7 separate regions of the Homo sapiens genome follow, and all the other regions are linked to region 2. The links are contacts of gene promoters, found by promoter capture Hi-C in human tissues and cell types (Jung and others, 2019). All regions are on one chromosome and are shown on one strand. The core of a region is centred on a gene start or on the middle of the fragment in contact, and the rest is flanking DNA. Distances in the headings are between cores, read along the strand shown. Region 1 overlaps ENOX1 (ecto-NOX disulfide-thiol exchanger 1). Region 2 holds the start of ENOX1 (ecto-NOX disulfide-thiol exchanger 1). Region 3 overlaps ENOX1 (ecto-NOX disulfide-thiol exchanger 1). Region 4 overlaps ENOX1 (ecto-NOX disulfide-thiol exchanger 1). Region 5 overlaps ENOX1 (ecto-NOX disulfide-thiol exchanger 1). Region 6 overlaps ENOX1 (ecto-NOX disulfide-thiol exchanger 1). Region 7 overlaps ENOX1 (ecto-NOX disulfide-thiol exchanger 1).

Evidence for each region. The method cuts DNA at HindIII sites, captures the fragments that hold promoters and counts their contacts. A contact is called where the count stands out against the background at its distance.
Region 1: a fragment that was not itself captured here is called in contact with the fragment with the promoter of ENOX1 in region 2 in 2 of the 25 tissues and cell types used here (dorsolateral prefrontal cortex and mesenchymal stem cells).
Region 3: a contact is called between a fragment that was not itself captured here and the fragment with the promoter of ENOX1 in region 2, in 3 of the 25 tissues and cell types used here (dorsolateral prefrontal cortex, hippocampus and mesenchymal stem cells).
Region 4: a fragment that was not itself captured here is called in contact with the fragment with the promoter of ENOX1 in region 2 in 2 of the 25 tissues and cell types used here (heart left ventricle and stomach).
Region 5: a contact is called between a fragment that was not itself captured here and the fragment with the promoter of ENOX1 in region 2, in 3 of the 25 tissues and cell types used here (H1 embryonic stem cells, dorsolateral prefrontal cortex and hippocampus).
Region 6: a contact is called between a fragment that was not itself captured here and the fragment with the promoter of ENOX1 in region 2, in 1 of the 25 tissues and cell types used here (lymphoblastoid cells).
Region 7: a contact is called between a fragment that was not itself captured here and the fragment with the promoter of ENOX1 in region 2, in 3 of the 25 tissues and cell types used here (dorsolateral prefrontal cortex, lymphoblastoid cells and mesenchymal stem cells).

What each region holds. Positions count from the first base shown.
Region 1 is chr13:43,531,539-43,534,690 of GRCh38, forward strand. All of the region lies in intron 2 of ENOX1 (ecto-NOX disulfide-thiol exchanger 1), which reads right to left. Among named protein-coding and RNA genes, the nearest start is that of ENOX1-AS2, 84 kb to the left of the region's middle. The HindIII fragment of the contact is 6,928 bases long and covers 1-3,152 here.
Region 2 is chr13:43,785,653-43,788,934 of GRCh38, forward strand. ENOX1 (ecto-NOX disulfide-thiol exchanger 1) reads right to left here and starts at 1,320. Exons shown (of 17, transcript NM_001347969.2): 1 at 1,000-1,320. The HindIII fragment of the contact is 9,406 bases long and covers 1-3,282 here.
Region 3 is chr13:43,607,663-43,610,705 of GRCh38, forward strand. All of the region lies in intron 2 of ENOX1 (ecto-NOX disulfide-thiol exchanger 1), which reads right to left. Among named protein-coding and RNA genes, the nearest start is that of ENOX1-AS2, 160 kb to the left of the region's middle. The HindIII fragment of the contact is 4,739 bases long and covers 1-3,043 here.
Region 4 is chr13:43,646,500-43,649,419 of GRCh38, forward strand. All of the region lies in intron 2 of ENOX1 (ecto-NOX disulfide-thiol exchanger 1), which reads right to left. Among named protein-coding and RNA genes, the nearest start is that of ENOX1, 140 kb to the right of the region's middle. The HindIII fragment of the contact is 7,722 bases long and covers 1-2,920 here.
Region 5 is chr13:43,569,045-43,572,170 of GRCh38, forward strand. All of the region lies in intron 2 of ENOX1 (ecto-NOX disulfide-thiol exchanger 1), which reads right to left. Among named protein-coding and RNA genes, the nearest start is that of ENOX1-AS2, 120 kb to the left of the region's middle. The HindIII fragment of the contact is 4,751 bases long and covers 1-3,126 here.
Region 6 is chr13:43,550,406-43,553,582 of GRCh38, forward strand. The region is part of intron 2 of ENOX1 (ecto-NOX disulfide-thiol exchanger 1); the gene reads right to left. Among named protein-coding and RNA genes, the nearest start is that of ENOX1-AS2, 100 kb to the left of the region's middle. The HindIII fragment of the contact is 3,515 bases long and covers 1-3,104 here.
Region 7 is chr13:43,586,159-43,589,287 of GRCh38, forward strand. The region is part of intron 2 of ENOX1 (ecto-NOX disulfide-thiol exchanger 1); the gene reads right to left. Among named protein-coding and RNA genes, the nearest start is that of ENOX1-AS2, 140 kb to the left of the region's middle. The HindIII fragment of the contact is 3,281 bases long and covers 1-2,975 here.

The DNA.
Region 1 (3,152 bases), core at 170-2,669, 250 kb before region 2:
AGAAATACCATTTGACCCAGCCATCCCATTACTGGGTATATACCCAAAGGATTATAAATCATGCTGCTATAAAGACACATGCACACATATGTTTATTGTGGCACTATTCACAATAGCAAAGACTTGGAACCAACCCAAATGTCCAACAACGATAGACTGGATTAAGAAAATGTGGCACATATACACCATGGAATACTATGCAGCCATAAAAAATGATGAGTTCATGTCCTTTGTAGGGACATGGATGAAGCTGGAAACCATCATTCTCAGCAAACTATCGCAAGGACAAAAAACCCAACACCGCATGTTCTCACTCATAGGTGGGAATTGAACAATGAGAACACACAGACACAAGAAGGGGAACATCACACACTGGGGCCTGTTGTGGGGTGAGGGGAGGGGGGAGGGATAGCATTAGGAGATATACCTAATGCTAAATGACGAGTTAATGGGTGCAGCACACCAACATTGCACATGTATACATATGTAGCAAACCTGCACGTTGTGCACATGTACCCTAAAACTTAAAGTATAATAAAATAAAATTTAAAAAAAGAAAGTTAAAAAAGTTTTAATTTTTAACATGTTAAAGACTGAATAAATAGCTCTGTTAAAATAAAGAAAAAGAAGAAAATAAAATGGTATTATTTTCTATCCAGTTTAACATTTTGGTATATACTTTTCCAGTTTTTCTCTTTATTATTCATATTTTTAATTTAAAATCTGTAACTCTTAAACTATAATGTTAATAACAATTCTGTTCCTTTGTCACTTAACAATGCACTGTGGACTTTTTTTACATTTTAAAATGTTCTTCTATGACAGTGGTTCTCAAAGTATGGTCCACAGAACCCTAGATGTCCCTGATAGATCCTTTTTTATGGTCTGGGAGGCTAAGTCTATTTTCATAATACTAAAATGTTTTTTGCCTTTTTTACTGTGTTGACATTTGCACCGATGGGGCAAAAGCAATGGTTGGTAAAACTGCTATAAGATTCAAAAGAAACAAGGCAGATTTTGATTGTTGATGTAGTATCAAAGAACAATATCCAAAGTTATCTGAAGAAATTATTAAAACACTCCTCTATTTACAACTACTTATATTTCTGAGGCTGGATTTTCTCCATTTTCCTCACTGAAGCATCGTAACAGGTTGAATAGTAATGCAGCTACGAGGATCCAAATGTCTTCCATCAAGCCAGAGTAAGACACTAAAAAGATCTGCAAAAATGTGAAAGGATACTAACCTTCTTGTTATATGTTTTGTTTTCAAAAATATATTTTTAAAGAGTATCTTATGTTAAACAATGTGTTTTATTTTTAAATGTGTAAATATATATACAAATATATTAAATATATATATTAAAATTTTCTATTTTCATTTCTAATACAGTATTGATGGATATAACCACATGAACAAAAGCTTTTTGAAGCCCCAAATAATTTTTACGAGTATTAAGAAGTACTGAGAAAAAGTCTGAGACGTGCAGTTTATAACAGCACTTTTACAGAAAGCACAGTGATCTTTTTCATGGACATGCCTTAATTTATTTAGCCCTGGAATATACATACATTTCTTGAAAACGAGGACTACTACGTAAATCCTAAAGGGCCTGGTGAGAAATGTGCACCCGGTGAGTAATGACCTGATTTTGGAGCCACAGTTCATGGTCATCATATCTTCCCCCAGGAGGAGGGCTGATTGAAGAAGAGGATCTAGGACTAGATAAAGCCCCCTCAGCTATGGGTGCCTACATTCATTCTCCTGCTGAGTTTTTTTCTCCCTTCTCAATATTTTGTGTCATTTTTCTAGGATTTCCACAGAAAAACACTGAAAGAAGTTGGAATACAATTTATTTCAATAAATCGAGTATTTTCCTTTAGCTCTCATGAAGTCTCTGATATATTTTTTCCATTTCTGATTGGCATTCTATCAGGTAGAGTCCTGGGTACATGAGTTTTGTCACCCAACTACCTTCCTGTCCTCACTACCTCTGAGTCCATCACTGGTGATGCACACGGCCCTTAATGACATGGCCCAGTTTATACGTTTTCTAACTCTAGACTTCTTAAATCAGATTACTTACACTAATTAATTTTTAAAATTAGTTTAGAAATTAAAAAACATCTGCCCAGAGTTTGAAAGCATACAAATTCTATAAAATGCCATTCTCTCATGCCTTATATTACTTAACAAATTAAATATATACAGAGTTAGCCTCATTAAACTCGAATGGTCTCTGGGAGACCTACCTAAGTAACTCTGAAGCAGACTATATTCCCTAAAATGTATTCTGAAGTACTGAGGAATTTTCATTGTTATGGAGGCGTTTGAGCACCCATTTTTTAGTAGGCCAGGATATCCTTGCCAGAATGCTAAAGAGAGTAGAACTAAATGACAGTACAGCCATGTAAGGTTCTCAAACTGTGAACATTGATGCTGTTTATTCCGTAATTTAGTGTAAAATGAGTGTGGGAATCTTTATTAGTGATTTTCAAGTGCAAAAGTTGAATTTGTCCTCCAAAAATTTGCACTGGCTTTTACTGTTGTAAACCAAGCCACAGCCTCCTTAATCCAACATACCCTTTCCGTTGTATGAGTCCAACCACAAACACACTTTAGATCCTCAAGAAATAATTTCTCAAGAAAACATAGTGGAGTAAGTAGCAACCCACTTGGGTCCTTAACCAGGCTCCTCTGGGCCTAGGATAACTGCACCTGGGCTACAGGCTTGTGTTCTGAAGAACAGGCTCAGTGTTGCTGGCAACTGCTGAGTTAAAATTTCCAACCACCACACTCCTCGTCCACAGCCCTGATGTCTACCCCTTTCCTCTCCCAGAATAGTTCAGTGATTTCCACACCAGGTACAGAGTCTGATCAGTTTCCAGGGATAATATTTTACCTTCTCTCACTCCTATGAAAAAAGGAAAAAAAACAACTGTTCGCTACCCCATCCCTTAACTCCTAGAGGGTAAAGACAATAATGCTATCACAGACTGAAGACGGTAGGTGTACCTAGGCTAGGTCTTCTAGGGATTGTGGAAAATGATGCTTTTAGTCTCTTTGCAAATTACAATATTCCAAGATGACCACAGTAGGAATGGGTGCTCCTAAAGCGCAGATGCCTAAGGTGGTCTCTTCAGTCCAGTAT
Region 2 (3,282 bases), core at 70-2,569:
ATACAGTGAGACGCAGAGATTCCACAGAGCTGGGCTTGCCCACCTGTCGACCCCACTTTCCCCATGTGCTCGCCGCGGGATGACAACCACAACACTCCAGAACCACCCCCCTTCCGAAAGAGGGCGGGGTTACGCCTTCAGCCAATCAGGACCCGCGAGCCCCGGGTGTCCAACCTATGGGGTGGCTGTGGCCGTGCAGGGGGAGGACGTGGGGTGGTCTGGGAGGGGCCGCGTCCGTGGGAGGCTCGCACGTGTCGGGTCCGGAGAGGCGGGGAGGCGGCCGGCGTCCAGCGGCCGAGGCGCGGGCTCTGCACCCTGGCAGCGGCCGAGTCCGGCTGCCCCAGTGCCTCCTTTACCTCGCGTTGGGCCAGGCAGGGCGCGCTCCCGCCGACGAAGACCTGTCCAAGGTGTCCGAGCTCCCCGCGAGAGGGGACAGTCACGAATAACAACAGTACCCAGCGCAGACTAGGCGGGGAGGAAAGTTTCCGGCCCGCAGCAGAGCGGAGTCCGCCAAGGCTGGAGGAAAAGGGATGCAGAGCGGGAGGGTGAAAACCTGAAAGAAGAGGGCAGCGGGAACACTGTGTGGGCAGGAACGGGTCCCGGGGGCGACGCCCGCAGGGGGAGACGGGTGCGGGGTGCGCTGTCCAAGGTGCAGGGGAGGTGACTGGCGCGCGGCGGGCGCGGAGCCCGGAGCTGACACTGGCTGGCGGGCGGAGGGGAGAGCGGGGAACAGCTGTCTGGGGCGCTGGGCACCCCCGGGCGCGTAAAAGTGAGGGAGCTTGAGACGGGGCACGGCGGGGAAGGGCGTGGGGGCTGCACCGAAGCCCCCACGCGTCCACGCACCCCTCCTCACCAGCCTCACCTCTAGCTCCACTCCCCTCCCCCCTCGCCCACTCCCCTCTCAGTCTAGATCCAGGTGCCGTGGCGGGGGTGAGACCAGAGGACCCCGGCTCGGAGCCCGGACGCCCCAGGGAGGCTGCGGGCCCCGGAGCTGCTTACCTGGGGCCGCCGTATGGGGAGCGGAGGCAACCCGCTGCGCGGAGTGGGGCGCCGGGCGCGGCGCGGCTCCTCCTAGCCTCGGCGTCCTCCTCCTCCTTTGCTTCTCCCGGACTCTGTCCCGGGCACGGAGCTGGGAGACGCGGCCGGGCTGCAGTCGCCGTTCCCTCTGCTGCCGCCGCCGCTGCAGCAGACAGAGGACGCCCCGTGGCGGCTGGAAGCCTGTGTGAGTAGCGGCGCCCGGGAGAGCGGGGATCTGCTGAGGGGCGCTGGAGACTCCGCGGCTGGAGGCGCGCGGGCGTGCGCACGCGCGCCTGCGAGTGTGAGTGTATGGGTGCGCGCGCGCCCACGGGGTGGGGGAGTCGCGAGGGGAGGGGGAGAGAGGCCGAGAGATGCTCGTAGGGACCGAGGCAAAATTCTACGACCCCGGAAATCCGTAAACGCGGGGAAGGAGGATCGAACGCGTGTCTCGCTTGGAGAAGCTGCCCACGGGGCGGCAGCAGAGGAGGAGGGGAAGTCAGCGAGGCGCGCTAGGGCTCCGGATCCCAGCCCGGCAGAGCCGAGCGGAGCGCGCAGCCACCGATGCAGCAGAGGCGGCGCCCGCAGCCCACGGTCGCGCTGCCCCCTCTCGGGAGGGGCCGAGGCCGCTCGCTCCCGCCACCGCCGCCGCGGTCGGGACTGCTCTACTGGGAGCGGGGGAACCGAGAGAGGGACCGCACGGTTGCTACGGCGACCTTGGAGGGGCCGGGCCCGCTGAAGGGCCAAGAGAAGAACCCGGGCGCACGTGGCCGACTCCAGGCTGGAGCGGGCGTGTTACAGGATTGTGGGCTTGGGGTAGACGGTGGAATTGGGCCGCGTGGCCTGGGCAGATGATGCGGGGTGTGCGGCCCAGAGTGGCTCGGCCGGGGTGCGGTCAGCATTCAGGTTGGTAAGGGTGAGGGGATCCTAACCCCAGGTGACATGTTGCCTTTTTTTCCTCCTTGGAGGCTACTTTTTCTCAAAGTTACCCACTTCCCAGGTAAGAATGCCGGCCTCCTCTTTGTTAGGATTCAACTTAGCTGTGCAGGCATCTAAGCAGTGCCTCCTTAGAGTCAGGCTCGTCCAAGAACCGCTCCCACCACCTCCCCACACACACCCACATCCCCCGATCCTCCATCCCAACTACATTGTAATACTTCAGAAATAAATGTTTAAAGCACATTTACATTCTCTGCCTCTTAACAGATATATTGTCTTAGTAGTATACTTTTCCTTGCTTATTTTAAATTCTGAGTGGGATTTTATTCACACAAGCATTTCTTCAAGGGTCGTAAGGTCTGGGTAATACTTGAAATACCCTTTCTGGCAGGAATCCTCAATGCAGGGATTGTGTTTTGCACACTTTTGCATGCCTTCCAGTGCTTAGCATAGTACTCTGTACTTTGTGAGTTCCCTGTAAATGTTGAATGAATGACATTGTTTTCTAGCTTCACGTAACCTGAAGGCAAAGACTTGGATGCTGGGAAAGTCATTACCACCCCACTAGGCTTGCCTGATTTTAACTTATGCCATTTCCTTGTGTGTGGCTATTTTTCCCCCTGGCGGTCAGAACCCCAATGCAAAGAAAGAAAATAATACTTATCCATTGTGCACCCTTAACAAAGGATGCATGTAGAAGCACTCTGCAGGGACCCCAGTGGGATGCCCTGGGTGTGAGGGGGCCAAAGCTCAGAACCTAACCTCTCAAAATGTGAAAGTCAGTGTTCACCAGCAGTTTATACTGTCCCTTCTAGAGCAGAAGGATGGGGAAAACAGTTTTAAGAGAAATACACTTTTGTTTTTTGTTTTTTGAGACGGAACCTCGCTCTGTCACCCAGGCTGGAGTGCAGTGGCGCGATCTCGGCTCACTGCAACCTCTGCCTCCCGGGTTCAAGCGAATTCTCCTGCCTCAGCCTCCTAGTAGCTAGGATTACAGGCGCCGGCCACCACGCTCGGCTAATTTTTTTTTTTTTTTTTTTTTTTTTTTTTTTTTAGTTTTTAGTTTTTAGTAGAGACACAGTTTCACCATGTTTTCCAGACTGGTCTCCAACTCCTGACCTCAAGTGATCCGCCTGCCTCGGCCTCCCAAAGTGCTGGGATTACAGGCATGAGCCACCGCTCCAGGCCAGAAATACACATTTCTAATAGCTTATCAGGTACGCATTTTTCTCCTGTAAAGAGTAGTGTTCATGGACACTGACCAATACATGCAGGGTCACCCCAGACTGCTAATTCTGCTGTCTGGTGTAGCACCAAGTCCACATCCTT
Region 3 (3,043 bases), core at 46-2,545, 180 kb before region 2:
TGTAGATAAGTATAAAAACTGAAGCTCACAGAGGTTACTGCTCACCAATTAGGGCAAGTACAGTTGCTGAAGTCCCAGCCTGCAGACTCAAGACCCTACTGCTCTTTCTAATGCATGATGCTGATTCTCTTGAAGGTAAGTTTGGAATCTTCAGAGGTATGTGTTAGGCATGGGTAGATATAAGGATTCTCTGATAAAACCTCTGGTAGAGACATCCTGTGAAATGTCTGTGGTCTTTGTCTCTGGGTAATATCTGTCTAATCCTCTCTTGAGCTCAGGGAGTTGCAATGGCTTAAGGCTGGAAGCACCAAGTCACTGAGCAGAGAAACATCCAGGAACAGGCATGCATGTATGATGCAGAATGGCTGGGAATCATTCCATCATGTGACACCACTTTACGATATCTTCCTTTGTTATGTGTTCCTGAAAAATACTTTAGAAACATATCCTCTTCACTAAAGACATTTCAGTAATTGACTCCTTAATTCAATAAATGAAAGCATCATTATTTTGAGGTCTAAGAATGGGTACGAGCATGGGGAGGGCAAAGTGTCATTTCTGGTTGAATTTCCTGAGAATAAGAACACCGGACTTTAAACAATATGATATGACTTTTTCCCCGAAACTGAAGTTATTTCTATCCTATTTAATGTCACATATATTTTAACTATTATGTAAAAAACATTGTGTTAGATGTCAAAGGATATAAAGATGACTGAGATCATTTCTTCCCTCAAGGAATCGCCAATCCAATGAAAAGATGAAACTCATCTTTCTAGAATACATTTTCCCGTGTTTATCTTTGAAAGAGTACACTGAATATTATACAACTTCTTCTTGATGACTGAGGGACATCATTCCAAGCCAGCTGATGTTCTGGGCCACAACAATAAGCACAGCTGCAGCTAGAAATGAGTGTGACAGGAGCTCAGGGCTACTGGTCATAGGAGTTAACCAAGAACTGCCTTCTGCCATCTCAAATTGGGTGGATGAGGGGCTGGATAGATAACAGATATAAATACCCTGATGTCATGATTGCTTTTTGGTCTTTTCCCTTTTTCCTCCCATCCTATATATGAACCAAAGACCTGCTTCATGACTAATGTGCTTTGAACCAGCACAAAACCGCCATTAGCCATCAGTGAGGTATACAGGTAGCAACAGCTGAAGACCTTTCCTGTCGGGCACCCTGCAGAGTGTCCAGGTCTGACCTAAATGTTACTCCTTATTGCTGGGCCTCCTCTAACGTCAGTGTCAGCTACCCACCTCCTTTCATCACTTGAATTTCTAAACCAACTGGCATCACCCCTTCTAAGCTCTGCCAGTTATTCTGCTATTCAGAACTCTCCGTTCTCAAATTACAATGTGTATAAAATGTCCAGCACAGTGCCTGACACAGAGCAGGCACTCAGTAAGTGCTAGAGCCCCTTTCCTTGTATTTTATAGTCTAATCTTTGATCTGACATTTTTCCTGTCTCTGTGTCTTTTTACGATCAGGTGGATATACATAGGTACTTCTTTATGGTTAGCAAACCAAAAAATCACAATCCATTACTTTCTATTTGTATGTATCTGTGAATGAAGCTTTTTTTCCTTTTACCCCTGCATAAGATACTTCTTAGGTTATCTACACCTTAATAACTCATTTGCAACTGTATAGATAGCTTAAAGGTTCTTTTTTATTTTCATAAATTTTCTCCACCCAGTGGTTATAATTTAATAAAGTAGTCACTGTGGCTGTATTTATATTTTGTAAGTAATTTATGTTTTGGTACAATGAATAATTCTGGATGTGAGTTATGTGACTGTGAATATACAGTTTGAGCTTTCTAGAATCTCTTCACTACCATTCTGATGCTGCCTCCTCTCATCTAATGACAACAACCTCATAGAAGAGATAAAAGTCTAAGATTCAAATCTAAAAGGCAAAGCAATTATAAAGTATAGCACATGTAGCATCTAATTATTTTTCCACATATAATGTCACACATGCAATTGGAAAAATGTTCTTTTGTTATTTGTAACATAAACCATGTCATTTTATTTTATTTTCACTTCCTTGCAGACTCTCATTAAAGCTTGCACACATATTATTATTCCATTGAAAAGTAATAACTTCATTATTATGGCATAACAATTAATGTAAGGTGTATCAACACAAATATTTAAAAGGACCATTACAAAAGTAAGAAAAACATTAATCTACTACTAGGGACTTACTTCATTCATGTAAGAAATTTTTCCATCTTCTGTCCATCTGGAGAAGAGCAAGATAAATTAATCTTTGGTTCCAAACATTTTTAGAGTTGTTTTATCAGGAAATAACTTCCTATTTTCCCAAGTTTTGAAATTTTGCACCTTCTCATAAGTATAAAAGAATCTCAGCATTTCACTTTGACCCATTTCAAATTTATATGGCAGATTTCCAAATGCTGGGAATTGCAAAGTGCCTGTTCTTAGCACATGATATCTACCATCTGCCCTGGCCATCAGGATAGGGTCCAGATAGTTCTCCAACATAATATTGTAAAGTCAAAGTGCTCTTGGCATTTATGTAATATTTTTGCAACATTTTGCAGGTGATAAATAAATTGTAACTTTTTCAAACTGGGACTCATCTAATTACATGCATGGGAGCACTTTTCTTGTGCTGTGTATTCAACTGTGTATGCTTGTACCTGCTCATTCATCCTCCACACCCACCCCACACAATCTGTCCAACTGAGATTTGATCATGTGAATGCTGAGAAAGGCTAAAGGTTTGGTACCCATTCAAAATGATATTTTTAAAGTACTTATTCAACATTTATTAGATGGAGTTGGGGAAAACTTATTTTCCATTAAGAAAAGTATGTCTCTCTTTATGCTTAGTTAACGAACAGGATTAGTTCACGCACTAAATGAACATATCACTTTTATTTGGGTCAGTCTTTCATTTCACAATTTTGTGGTTTCTCATTAAGGGACAGCATTAGTTATTCATATTCAGGAGGGCAGAGGTAACTCTCACAGATATGGTTACAAAGTTACAAAATAGATTTCA
Region 4 (2,920 bases), core at 370-2,869, 140 kb before region 2:
CAGCTACTGAAATGAAGGAAGTGAAGACAAGCGCAGGAGTCTTTTCCTTCTGGTGGCCACTGTTGGGTTATTAGAATCGTCATCTGTACACCAAAGACAAGCTATCCTTCTCATGCGCTGATTGATTACATGCTGTCACAGGCTAACCTGTAAATCCCTGTCATCAATCACCCTCTCTCACAGAGGATATGGGAAGATTTCATGTCTCAATCATGCTCTCCAGTTTACCCCAGGGTGACAAAAGCCAGATAGAGTCTTGGGGCACTGAGGTGATCATACTCACTTTCCCTTCTCGCCTCATCATTTAGATGGATACAACACTAGATAGTAACGGGCAACGTTTACAGAGCACGTCTCAATAATCGTTTTATCCTTCTCCCACACTAGAGATGCAGACAAGCAAAATTTCTATTTTCTCTTCACAGAGGCTCAATGAATTGAAGTGGCTTGATCCAGGCCCAGATCTGGTAACCAAGGAAGCAGAAGCTTCTTACCATTCCATGTTCTCTCTACTTCACAAAACCAAGGAGGCCAATAGATGGTCTCAGCACCCATTCTGGCCCTCTCAGAGGCGTCTTTGGCTACTCTCTAATGGACCTTGTAAGGGGCAGGGAAGTGCAGTGGTTAGGGAACACAGTCAAGAGCTAGATTGCCTGAGATTTTAAATCCTGTCTCATTCACTCATTAGCCAGTCACTCCTGGCTCAGTCACTTAGGCAATTTATTTAACCTTTGTGTGCCTTAGTGTCATCATGTGTAAAATGGGGATAATAATAGTGCTTCTATTGTAGGATTATTATAAAGATTGAATAAAATAAATAAACTACTGTATCTGACACCACCATTGCTACCACTACAACTGCTTTGAGTCCCTTTTAGACACACTGATCCCTTTCTGGTTAGAAGCCCAATTTCTGATTGTCAGGCTTGGTTAGGAATTCAGGTGAACTTCCCCAGGGTCTCCATATCCAACCCTGCAAAACAGCAATCTAGGCTCACTCTGCCATCAGGAACCAAATTATCAAGAAGAATGTGACAAGTTCCACAAATATTTCTTGTGGAATGAATAAATGACTTAGGAAGACTCTCTGTTCTGCAATATACATTCTGGAAGAGAAATGAGGCTTTGGGCTTGACTATCCCTATACCCCCTTTGTGAATAAATCCATGTGACAGGCAGAATGATGACTACCACCAAACCCCCAAAGATGTCCAGCGTCTATTTCCTGGAACCCATGAATATGTTACCTTATATGGCAAAATAGATTTTGCAGATGTGATTATGATTAATGGCCTGGAGATGGGAGATTATCCTGTATTTTCCAAGTAAACTCAATCTAATCACATCAGTCCTTAAAAACGAAGAACCTTTTTCAGCTGTAGAGAACCAGACAGATGGCAGAATGAGAAGGTCTCGACCCACCATTGCTGGCTTTGAAGACAGAAAGGCATCACAACCAAGGAATGTGTGTGACCTGTAGAAAATGGAAAAGGCAAGAGCATGGATCTCCCCCAAAGTCTTCAGCCATGCTGACACTTTGATTTGAGCCCAGTGAGAACTGTGTTGGACTTCCGACCTGCAGAACTGTTAAGACTATACATCTGTGTTGTTCAAGCCACTGGGTTTGTGGTAATTTATTAGGGCAACAATAGAATCTCTGGATTCTTCCACTAGGGAAAGATCATAACCCAGTACTGGGACTATTCTGTAGGGTTAAGCAACAGGAAAGCATGTATTTACTCACCAATTCATTCATTGATTCATCTTTTTTATTCATATTGAGCACCTACCACAGCCCAGACACTGTTCTTTGGGCTACAGAAAACAACAGTGAACCAGAGAGCCATGGTCAGCTTCTGCAACCACGCAGCTTACAACTCAAAGCTGACAGATAGAGATTAAGCAGCCAATTAATAAATTAGATAACTGCAAACAGTAGAAAGTGCTGTGAAGAAAATAAAATAAGATGATGAGATAGAGAACACAGAGGGCAGAGCTGGGGAAACAGAAACCCCAGATTTGGGTGGATGGAAGGCTAAGAAATGACATTTGCCAGCTAAGCAAAGGTCCAAGAGAGTTCATAAGCCACTAACTCGTGGCTGACCTAGCCTTCTTATGGATGCTGTAAGAGGTGAAATACCTGTTTTTGAGAAATTGATATGACTTCTCACTCCAAGGAAAAGTGTGCTGTGTGAATTGCTACTCTAATTTTCCTGTCTCCACTCTTCACAAGCATGACTTTTAAGGCTTTATTTTTACCATATTTTATGAACAGTGTAAAGGCAGCATTATCCCAGAGTCCCTGCATATCATTTTCAGTGAGAGTACTCAGCGTTCTCCTTATCTGAATATGGATGTGGTTAGACTCCCTGTGACGGCTACATTGCTGTTACTGTGATAGATTTCCCTGTGCTGGCTGCAACCTGTATCAGCGACACTGGCTCTGAAACCAAATGCATTGCTCAGGGTTAGACCCAGACACAGTGCTAGAGCCTACGCAGACCACAGCTGTCTCTACTGCACATTTAGTTATGACAAAAATGTCAAAGCGTGAAGGTGGCAAATAAAGTGTCATATCATGTAGGAATGATGGTCTCTGATATCCAAATCATACACACACAAAACAGGCCACTCAATTCATTTATTGTAATGTCTTGCTCTAATATCTATGGGAAAATAGTACAAACAACTTCAATTTTTATTCAGGTTGTCATAGTGTCAATAATTACATCTCATAATTACCCCTTTCATAGGTTGTCTATAAAAGTAAAACTAGAACATCCAAGTAATCTGTCTCAACCCAGAGTTCCCAGACACACGCAAACAATGCAGGGCAACGCAAATTACCTTCACACCCTGGTTAGTTTGTTCTACAGATGCCTTACTGTGTGAGAAGGGGCTAAGCTGAGGCATAAAATGA
Region 5 (3,126 bases), core at 600-3,099, 220 kb before region 2:
TCTCTTTGGAAAAGAAGCTTTAAAAACAAAAGTAATAGAAAATCAATGGCTGTATACCCTTAGATAGAAATGCAGCCATCCGCTCACTTACCTTTTATCTGAAATACTTCAATAGCCCTTCCTCACCTCTTTCCAAGCTATACTGATATAAAAATGACCTTTCTAAATTGGATCATGGTTGCTTTTTCCATCCCTGGTTCCTTATTCTCATAAGGCTCTCTTAGGAAGCATATCACATAAGCATATAAAGATCACCTAGGGCAGACAGATAGATAGATAAATTAGACAGAGAGGTGAATGGATGGTAGGTAGGTAGGTAAGTAGAGATAGATAGATAGAACTAGGGCACTTTCATTAATCAATTTGCTGGTTATTCTCTGCATTCTGTTCCCTTGCATCAATACCTCAGACTCTTTGCTATGGCTCAGAGACCTATGTTCTCTTCTTGAAACCTTTGACTTCATTGTAGCTCACAGATTAAGATAAAAGAGACTCCCAGTGACACTCTCAGAAGAGGAAGGGTCCCCTGGCATTACTGCATGAAGAGGCAGATTGAGACGACAACTCATCCTTTATTAGAATCTTTTCCTTAGAATATAAAGGGCAAGCTCCTTAGTGGTTTAAAAAAAAAACTGTATTTCTCCATCTGGTCCCTGCTGTTTTGCTCAGCTTCATACAACCAATCATCATTCTCCAACAATGAGCCTTTTAAAGCTCCTTAACTACACCACGATGTTTCTAAAGTTCTGCTTCTCTTCACTGGTGTTTTTGCTTTTTTGTCTGCTTGACAAACTCTGACTTGGTTTTGAAAACCCAGTTCATAATCATCCCACACCACACCCTGGAAAAAGTTAATCATTCCCTTCTCTGGGTTAGCTCTGCACTGTTCCCATAAATATTTCTATAGTTGCACGAATCAGGTGCTTTGTTAGTTTAAATTAGTATCTGTGAACTGGTTGAGAGCAGGAACTTTGTCTTAATTTTCTGTTTTCTTAGCACCCAGCATAGTTTAGGACACATTCAATATAACTGAGGATACCTTTAAGATTTTCCATTAGGGAGAAAAAGGGAATAGTGATAATATTATCCAAGAAAGGAAAATGAAAAACAGGAGCAGACTGCATTGTGAGATGCCATTTGTTTCATTTGGAGATAGTCACGTTTCAAAGTCCCAGTTAGATGTACCACAGAAGAAATTAGAGGGTTTGGGAAATCTGGGCTTAGAGTTAGGAAAGGGGTTTGGAGCTGAAGATGGTCATCTGAGAGTCAGCAACACATAGGCAGTAGCGGAAGCCATAGATGCACATAGAAATGAAAAACTAGAAAAAGTGGCAAGAACCCTGTAGTTCACTAAAAATTTGGCCCCAAATTTAGGAGCCAATGAAGAACATGTGGATAGATGAAGACTGGGAAGAATGATAAGGAAGAACCTGGAGGACCTCAGAGGCCAAGGACATTAAAATTTCAAATAAGAAGGGGTATCGATCATGTTAGCATCTCATAATGGTTAAGTGGGATGAAAGCTAAACAGATGAGATGAATTTTCTAATATGAAGAAAGGGGTGTGCAGGGCAAAGCACGACATCGAGAGCAATTTCAGTGGAGGCAAAAGCCCGGGATAGAACAAACTGCAGTCAGTCAGAGTGAATGAGTGCCTTTCATCCAGACTCATTACAGAAACTGTGGCTTAAGCAAGAAGCCCTCAGTGGCCATCTGGGTGAGAAGTGGAGGGGAAGAGGGATGGAAAGGTGTGGTGAGAAGGAATCAGCTAATGGGCAAAGCAGGAAGGATTCTACTGTTTGCACGACAACATTTTACATATTGTATATTTTAGGCAAGATGTCCCTAGGCAAATGGTTCCATAATCCCTTTTGTTGATAAATGCCTATTCCCTCATTTCTCATGTTTCTATAAAGGGGAAAGAACATCAACTCCACCAGAAGATACAGTCTCTGGCTTCTCATTCACTTCTTCTTGGGAAGGAATAATTTATCTGATTTTTGAGTTTGGGAGAAGAAATTGAACATGACTAGCTCATTATCTTCCTCCCTTAAATTCATAAAAGGCACAGAATCTCCTATTCTGTTATGCTTTAAGCAGCCTGCCACAGCAGAGGAGGATGACGGCTGTCTACCAATGCCTGTAACTGGGGGCTCAGTTTACATAGAAGGGAGTTGTATTAAGTCCAAGTGGTCACAGATGTAAGTCACATTCTCCAATTCGGTCATGCTGGTAATAAAGCTTATGGTATACACTCCATCTGTCTCACTCTCATGTTTGCTTCTCAACTAGATGTGAACTCAAGGTGGGAATCGGGTGCTTAATTATTATTGCCTTAAAACCTTAAAAGTAGGCCGGGCGCGGTGGCTTACGCCTGTAATCCCAGCACTTTGGGAGGCCGAGGTGGGTGGATCACCTGAGGTCAGGAGTTTGAGACCAGCCTGCCAACATGGAGAAACCCCACCTCTACTAAAAAAGAAAAAAAAAAATACAAAATTAGCCGGGCGTGGTAGTGCATGCCTGTAATCCCAGCTACTTGGGAGGCTGAGGCAGGAGAATCGCTTGAACCCTGGAGGCAGAGGTTGAAGTGAGCTGAGATTGTGCCAGTGCACTCCAGCCTGGGCAACAAGAATGAAACTCTGTCTCAAAAAACAAACAAACAAACAAACAAAAATCAAACCTTAAAATTACACTTCAAGGAGGTTGTTTAAAAATAGAGAAATATAAGACCTCCAATTCCTCATCTGTGAGGTGAAGGGGCTGAAGTGGATAATCTTTAAGTCCTTCCCAGCAATCTCTACACGTCTGTTTGCTATTGTGTGTGTGTATATATCAGACAAGCGGTGGGGCGGTGGGGGTGGTGCATGCGCAAGGAGTCAGACAATCTTAGGTAAAAGGAAGGGAGGATTCAAAGCAGGAGCAGGCAGTCACCGGGGTAGTGAGCAGAAAGGTCTCCTAGGCTGAAGAAAAATTAAGAGATTAGAGGGCAACTTACTTATGAAGAGCATTTTCTGAGACAAAAATGAAGGTTGCTATATATAAACAAAAATATATATATACACATACATATACATTATAATACATAGAGATAAACAAAAAGCAAAATACTGAATCAGGCTGGAAAAA
Region 6 (3,177 bases), core at 97-2,596, 240 kb before region 2:
TGGGTGTCATACTGGAGGGACAATGGGCTGTGAGGACTTCCCAAGAGATGGTATAAGTAGGGAGAGAACCACATTTGCTGTTCTTTATGAGAAATTAGGCACATGTCAAGAATAGTTTTGCCTACACATCTTTCTCATCTTCTACTTGACTGCAGATAAGGTATATCCAATCCTTGCTTGAGATAAGATGTGACTGCACTGCTCAGTGCCTCAGCTATCACAAAAACTCTGAGAGGGTTAAATTATTACTGGCCCAATTTATAGGTGAGAAAACAGTGCCTCAAAGGGGTTAAGTAATTTTCCCATGATAATGTGCTCAAAAACTACAAAAACTCTCCTCCTTACAAAGTTTCTAAGACTTATCTTCAGGGTATGTGGACATAGCAAAGAAGTTGTACTTTGTATTGAGTTAAAGAATCAATCATCTCTAGCCAATGAGCCTTTTGTGACATTACGATAGCAATTTAGATCAGCAGTTTACGTTATTAAGGAAAGGAGTTCGTATTACAAAACATGCTGCTTCTTAACTGTTTAAGAGTTTAGACCATAAGTAACCCATATTTAGAGAGCAAAACCCTGGTGTCATTGTGCTTTTTCCCAGTAACATCTTTCAAATATTATCATATCCAAGAGACAAGTATTTTTTTTAAGTAATTTTGCATAACTCTTAAAAAGATACACAATCCTAAACTTAACTTCACTGGGATTTTTAAAATAAAATAAAAATTACAGATGCTGTTTCAAGATATGCTTTCTCAAATACTTTTCCAAGTATAGCATACCTAACACAGAACATAGTTTACATTTGTCCATGGTGAGGCTTCAAAATGGAGCAATTAGATCAAGTTCAGGGGATAATTTATTTTCTAAAAATTATGTGGCCTTTCTTTTTAATTCTATTTATGTGATGTATCACATCTATTGACTTGTATATGTTAAATGATCCCTGCATCCCTGGGATGAAACCAATTTGATCACGATGTATTATCTTTTTGAGGTGCTGTTGACTCAAAAGTTGTTGGAAGAAAAAATAATAATAAAGAGAGAAAAAAATGAAAATTATGCAGAATATTTCTGCTTCAGGAAACTACTGACCCATTTTTTATCTTTTAAGATAAAAACATTTTTATACACCAAAAACTTTTATCTTAAAAGGTACATTATAATTTAGTCAAATCTGATAGTCATGGGCTTCATAAGCTGCAACAACTGATTATTACATTTGATAATACGATGACTGAAAAGCAAAAGAACATTTGGTATCTTAATATCAATTTAAATTTCACCCGATCATGATGGCAAAATTGCCCACAAAGCTGTTCTAGCTGTTCCTTACACCTTTCCTCTTCTACAGCACACTCAGCCAGTGCAGGAGAGGATGGGCCCAGCACAATTGTGTCCACACACCACCTCAGACAAGATGAGGTTATTTTGACTTAAAGGGTATGTGGTAAGCTTAATGAAATGATTTAAATAATCTTTACGCAGGCCTTAATTTTTTTCCATTTGCTTCTTTAGTTTAGAAAACACTGGTTTTATGAGGAGCTGGGTTTCGTTCTCAGCTTCTCTGTATTTTAATGTCCTGCTGGCCTGACCTGGTCTCTACCTGATACCCTGATGTCTGAGTCATCTCCAACCTCTCCAGGAAGAAGCAGGGACCTTTCGCCCTGTCACTCTGAGAGGTTTCTGATCTCTTACCAACCCTCTTTGAGAGCCCTGACTTAAGAAAAAAAATGCTTGAAAATAAAACACCGAAGTATTCATTGACAGTTTCAACTTCATTGTGGGAGACATTCTCTGATGTCATGAAAGGAGCATGCCAGGGAGGCCACCCATCAATTGATTTTTGAAATTCCTAGAAGCCATAGAAAAGGGCTCACCTCTGCTCTAGGAGATAAACAGTACTTCATAAGATATTTATTAACCTAGAGGCTCTTAACTAAAAAAAAAAAAAAAAAGAAAACAATGCAGCCTTTTAGTATATTCCTAGAACCCTCCTCATTCCCCTTTCATTCCTTAGCTTATTCCCTCCCTTCTTCTTTCTCATTTACACAGAATCTTAGGGTCAGAAGAAACCTTGCTGGTTAAATAATTTAGCTCTTCTGGCTATACATTCTCCTCCCTTTTTATTTCTCTGCATCTCCATGTCCCAGCTTGCTTCTCCTCTCCTCTCTGCAACTGTTCTTCCCCCTCTCATTTGTTCTGAAATTGCTGCTGCCTACATGGTAGGCACTCCTGGGTATACACAGTAGGACCAAAATAAGCCTGACATGAATGGTTTTGCCTGGGTCATTAACTGAGGTCCAGGACTGACTACCCAAAAAGAACTACCTAACCTTGTAGTCCTCTGCCTGTCTTAATACATGAAGGTAAGACTAGGCAATCAGTTATTTGTTGAGCTAATGAATGAACAAATGATTGCTTATCCAAGCAAATAGCATATCATTTTCTGTTAAAGTGAAAATACAGCCCTAGGAGAATTAGGGAGGAGCTTCACTGGTCACAGATATCTTATTACCAATTAATTTAAGGATATTGCTCCTTCCTAATAGAAGTAGTCATGATAAAAAATGGGAGTTTGTAATAATATTGAAGAGGAAGAGGAGGTAATTTTGGAACCTGGGATATTCTGTATGGGGAAATATGGGGAGTGGAGATGGGGGTTGGGAAATCTGAGCAGTCAGAGGCAACCTAGAGACACCACCGGTACCTAAAGACAGGTGTTAGGAGGCACCAGAAGTTGGGAATGGCACACAAAAACGAAATACAGCAGCAAAATTCAACATGAATACTATTATTTAATGTAGGTTTAGGTAGCTATTGTCATAACACCAATTCATATGTGCTGAATTGGGAAATCTTGCATTGAGCAGTCAATAAATAATAACTAAAGTTAATAGTGAATGTAGGACCATCACCATTTTGCTACTTTACTTCTCAAAACAAAACAAACGAGAAAAAAAATGCTATCCCATAAGACAGACTGGGCTTGACACTTGGTTGCTCTGACAACGAAGGCCCAAAGAAAAAGTTCCTGTTTTACTGGTGTCAAAGTACTCACCGCTTCTTTAAAACTGGCTCACTTAAATATATCTGCCTTATCCCTTTTTGATGTCATTTGTACGATTCACTTTTGCTTTGGTTTCTGGTTTTGCAAATTGTTAGTTCCTGCAGATA
Region 7 (3,129 bases), core at 85-2,584, 200 kb before region 2:
GCCACTCCCTTCGCCAACCCCAAGCTGGGCAGGCCATTCACCAAACTGCCCCAGAGGGTCTTTCTAAGACATAAATCTGAAATATCTCAAGACAAATGGCTTGCCATTGACAGCAGAATGAAAATCACCTTTCTTTACCTGATAAAATATCTTTCACAGTTTGACACCTACCTAGGCATCCAACTGTAATGTCTGCTTCCTGGTCAAACTTGCTGCTTGACCAGCATGACATTCATACCTGGTGCTTCAACATGACTCTGTGCCTTTGTCTGCTGTTCTCTCACTGCTCCTCTAACTGACAAACCCCTAAATATCTTTCAGTACTAAACCAACTGTGTTGGCGGGCTCTTGACAGTGAGCTCCTTGAGGGCTGGGACCTCTCTTCATCTCTTTGTCTGCAGTGGCTAGCTGAGGCCTCCCTCTGAATGAAGAGGAGGGGGCAAGACTTCCTTTCTCATAACCGCTAGCCTACCTTCTTTCCTGCCACATTAGCTTACTTTTACTTTCAGCTCATATTTGGCTTTGGAATTACTTTCAGAATTAGCAGTTGATACCCGCCCAGTCAGACACCATGTCCTCACACTCCTGTGTTTTCAGTGAGCAGGTGCAAGATTTAAGAAATAGTAAAAGAGGCGGTGGCTCACGCCTGTAATCCCAGCACTTTGGGAGGCTGAGGCAGGTGGATCACGAGATCAGGAGATCGAGACCCTCCTGGACAACATGGTGAAACCCTGTCTCTACTAAAAATACAAAAAAAAAAAAAAATTTAGCTGGGCGTGGTGGCACGTGCCTGTAATTCCAGCTACTCAGGAGGCTGAGGCAGGAGAATCACTTGAACCAGGGAGTTGGAGGTTGCAGCAAGCCAAGATTGTGCCACTGCACTCCAGTCTGGCGACAGAGCGAGACTATCTCAGAAAAAAAAAAAAAAAAGAAATAGTAAAAGAACAATCAGCTCTGATATCCTGGCCACTTCATCTAATGCTAAGACCTTCATTTTAAAAGATAGATTTAGGGTAAGAAGCACTTGTCAGTCTCAATTTTGCTCCAGATGAGGACCCACGCAAAACTACTTCTATGCTTTCCTTTCTTGGTTATAAAGAATTCCACTTTCTTTCAATTTTCAGCATAGATAAGTTTTTTACTTTCAAATCATCCATTACTTTTCTCTGGCCCATCTCCAATTTCCTAATATTGTGTTTAAAATATGGAGCTCAAAATTAGGCTCTAACATAGACCTTATCAATGGTGAACACAGTGAGTAAATTTCATGGTTCTTGTGTACTACATACATTCTGGTTAATGCAATCCCAGATCATGTTCACCTTCTTGATAACAGCCCTATATTGCTGACACATATCCCTGACAGGTGAGAATGGCTTTTTACCTATAGAGTACTTACATGTCAATTCCAATCTTTATGATGGCTAGGATAGTCTATCAGTATATTTTTTCTGGAATAATAAAAACATCACCTATTGCAAAGAGCTGTCTAATGCACTGACAGTATAGCTCATCTTGACTTGATGTTCCACTTCATAATTGGAACCATTAGACTGAAATCAGAGCTTCTGAAAATTCTCTGAGTTTTATTTTTAAACATGTTATATATTTATGTGGGTACATAACAATTTCATTCAAAGTAAAAATAAATACAGTTATTCTTCAACTATTAGTTGATACAACTTCACTTTAGAAGCCATAAATATCAGAAACAATGATTTAGATAAACCATGTGGAAATAGTTTTAGGAGGTATCCTCCAATTCCATTTATGGAATTCTCTTTGCATTTTCCAAAAAAAAAAATCTATAACAGGAAAGACAGTTGAAGGCAGAGACTGCATTTTAAGTTATCTGCCTTTCTAACAAAGCAATGGAAAGGGAGACCCAAATTATGCTTCTGAAGTGAAACGGGATAAGCTTAGCAAAAAATTTCATCTCTAATTAACTCCTTAAAAAATTTCAGTCCAGATTAAGTATATTTCTGTTAATTAACATATATAGTTAATTTCATTTTCTCATATTGACCTAGTAAAATTAAAGCATACAAATACATCTAAAATTTTTTGACATACTTTCATGACAGATTGAACATTATCTTATTAAAGCAAAATGTATAGATAAGTGCTTTGGAGTGAAAACATCTGGATCATAGTCTTAGTGCATTCAATCACTATAAGATCAAAAAAGTCACATTACTCTTTAAGATCTCCATTTCTTTTACATGATAATGACAATCAGTAATCGTCATAACGCTTACAACAATCTACTTTTTCCCTCTGATGTGAGTGTGGCTGAGAAATCCATATAACCCTTAAAAAAATAATGAATAAGATTAAAATACAACCCTGTAATGTGGACCAGTATGATCTCTAAAATACAATCTGACACTTCAATATAGGGAAGTTGAGGTTGGAATTTGAAGTTGAAAGTCCTACTGGAGCCTCATTCCCATACCTCCTAGACATATGGCCTCTGAGCCGTGGTTTCCTCATTACTGTGTCAGATAGACTACACTAGTTTCAAGTTTTTGTTCTTGGAGGTGAAATTCTGCTCAGATCCTCAATAAACAAATGATGAAAACAGGGCTGCTCTGGTGATGCCAATGTGGCAGATGTGGGGCACTTCGCATCCTAACCCTTCATTCTATGGCCCCAGCAAAAGTTGCATGGAACAAAATTTTAAAACCAATGGAAGCGATTTAGATATGATTGTTTTCAATTATCAAGTCTTGGTGTCTCTTAACCATATGCACTTGCCAGAGGTGGGGTGAGGGAGAAGTGGTATTTTAATGGCAAAGAGCACTGGTACAGATTTGGACTTCTAATCCTTGGTAGGCTAAATATTCAGGAAAGCTCTCCTTTCATAAAACATTTGCATGATGGATAAACAGCTAACTTACAGATAAACACATTGCTGAGCTCTCCAGAAAACAAGGGAAGCTAACAAAAGATGAAACCTACAAACTAAAACAAGAATGCTAAGCAAACCCTGAAGTTGGGCCTTCCATGCAGGAAAAAAATGACCAAACCAGGAACCCAGAGCTTTGGACATTAATGGAAAAAAAAAAAAAAAAAAAAAAAGCAAAGGGTCTGCAGAAAGTAGTGCTGTTAAGTCTGAGACCCTAAATT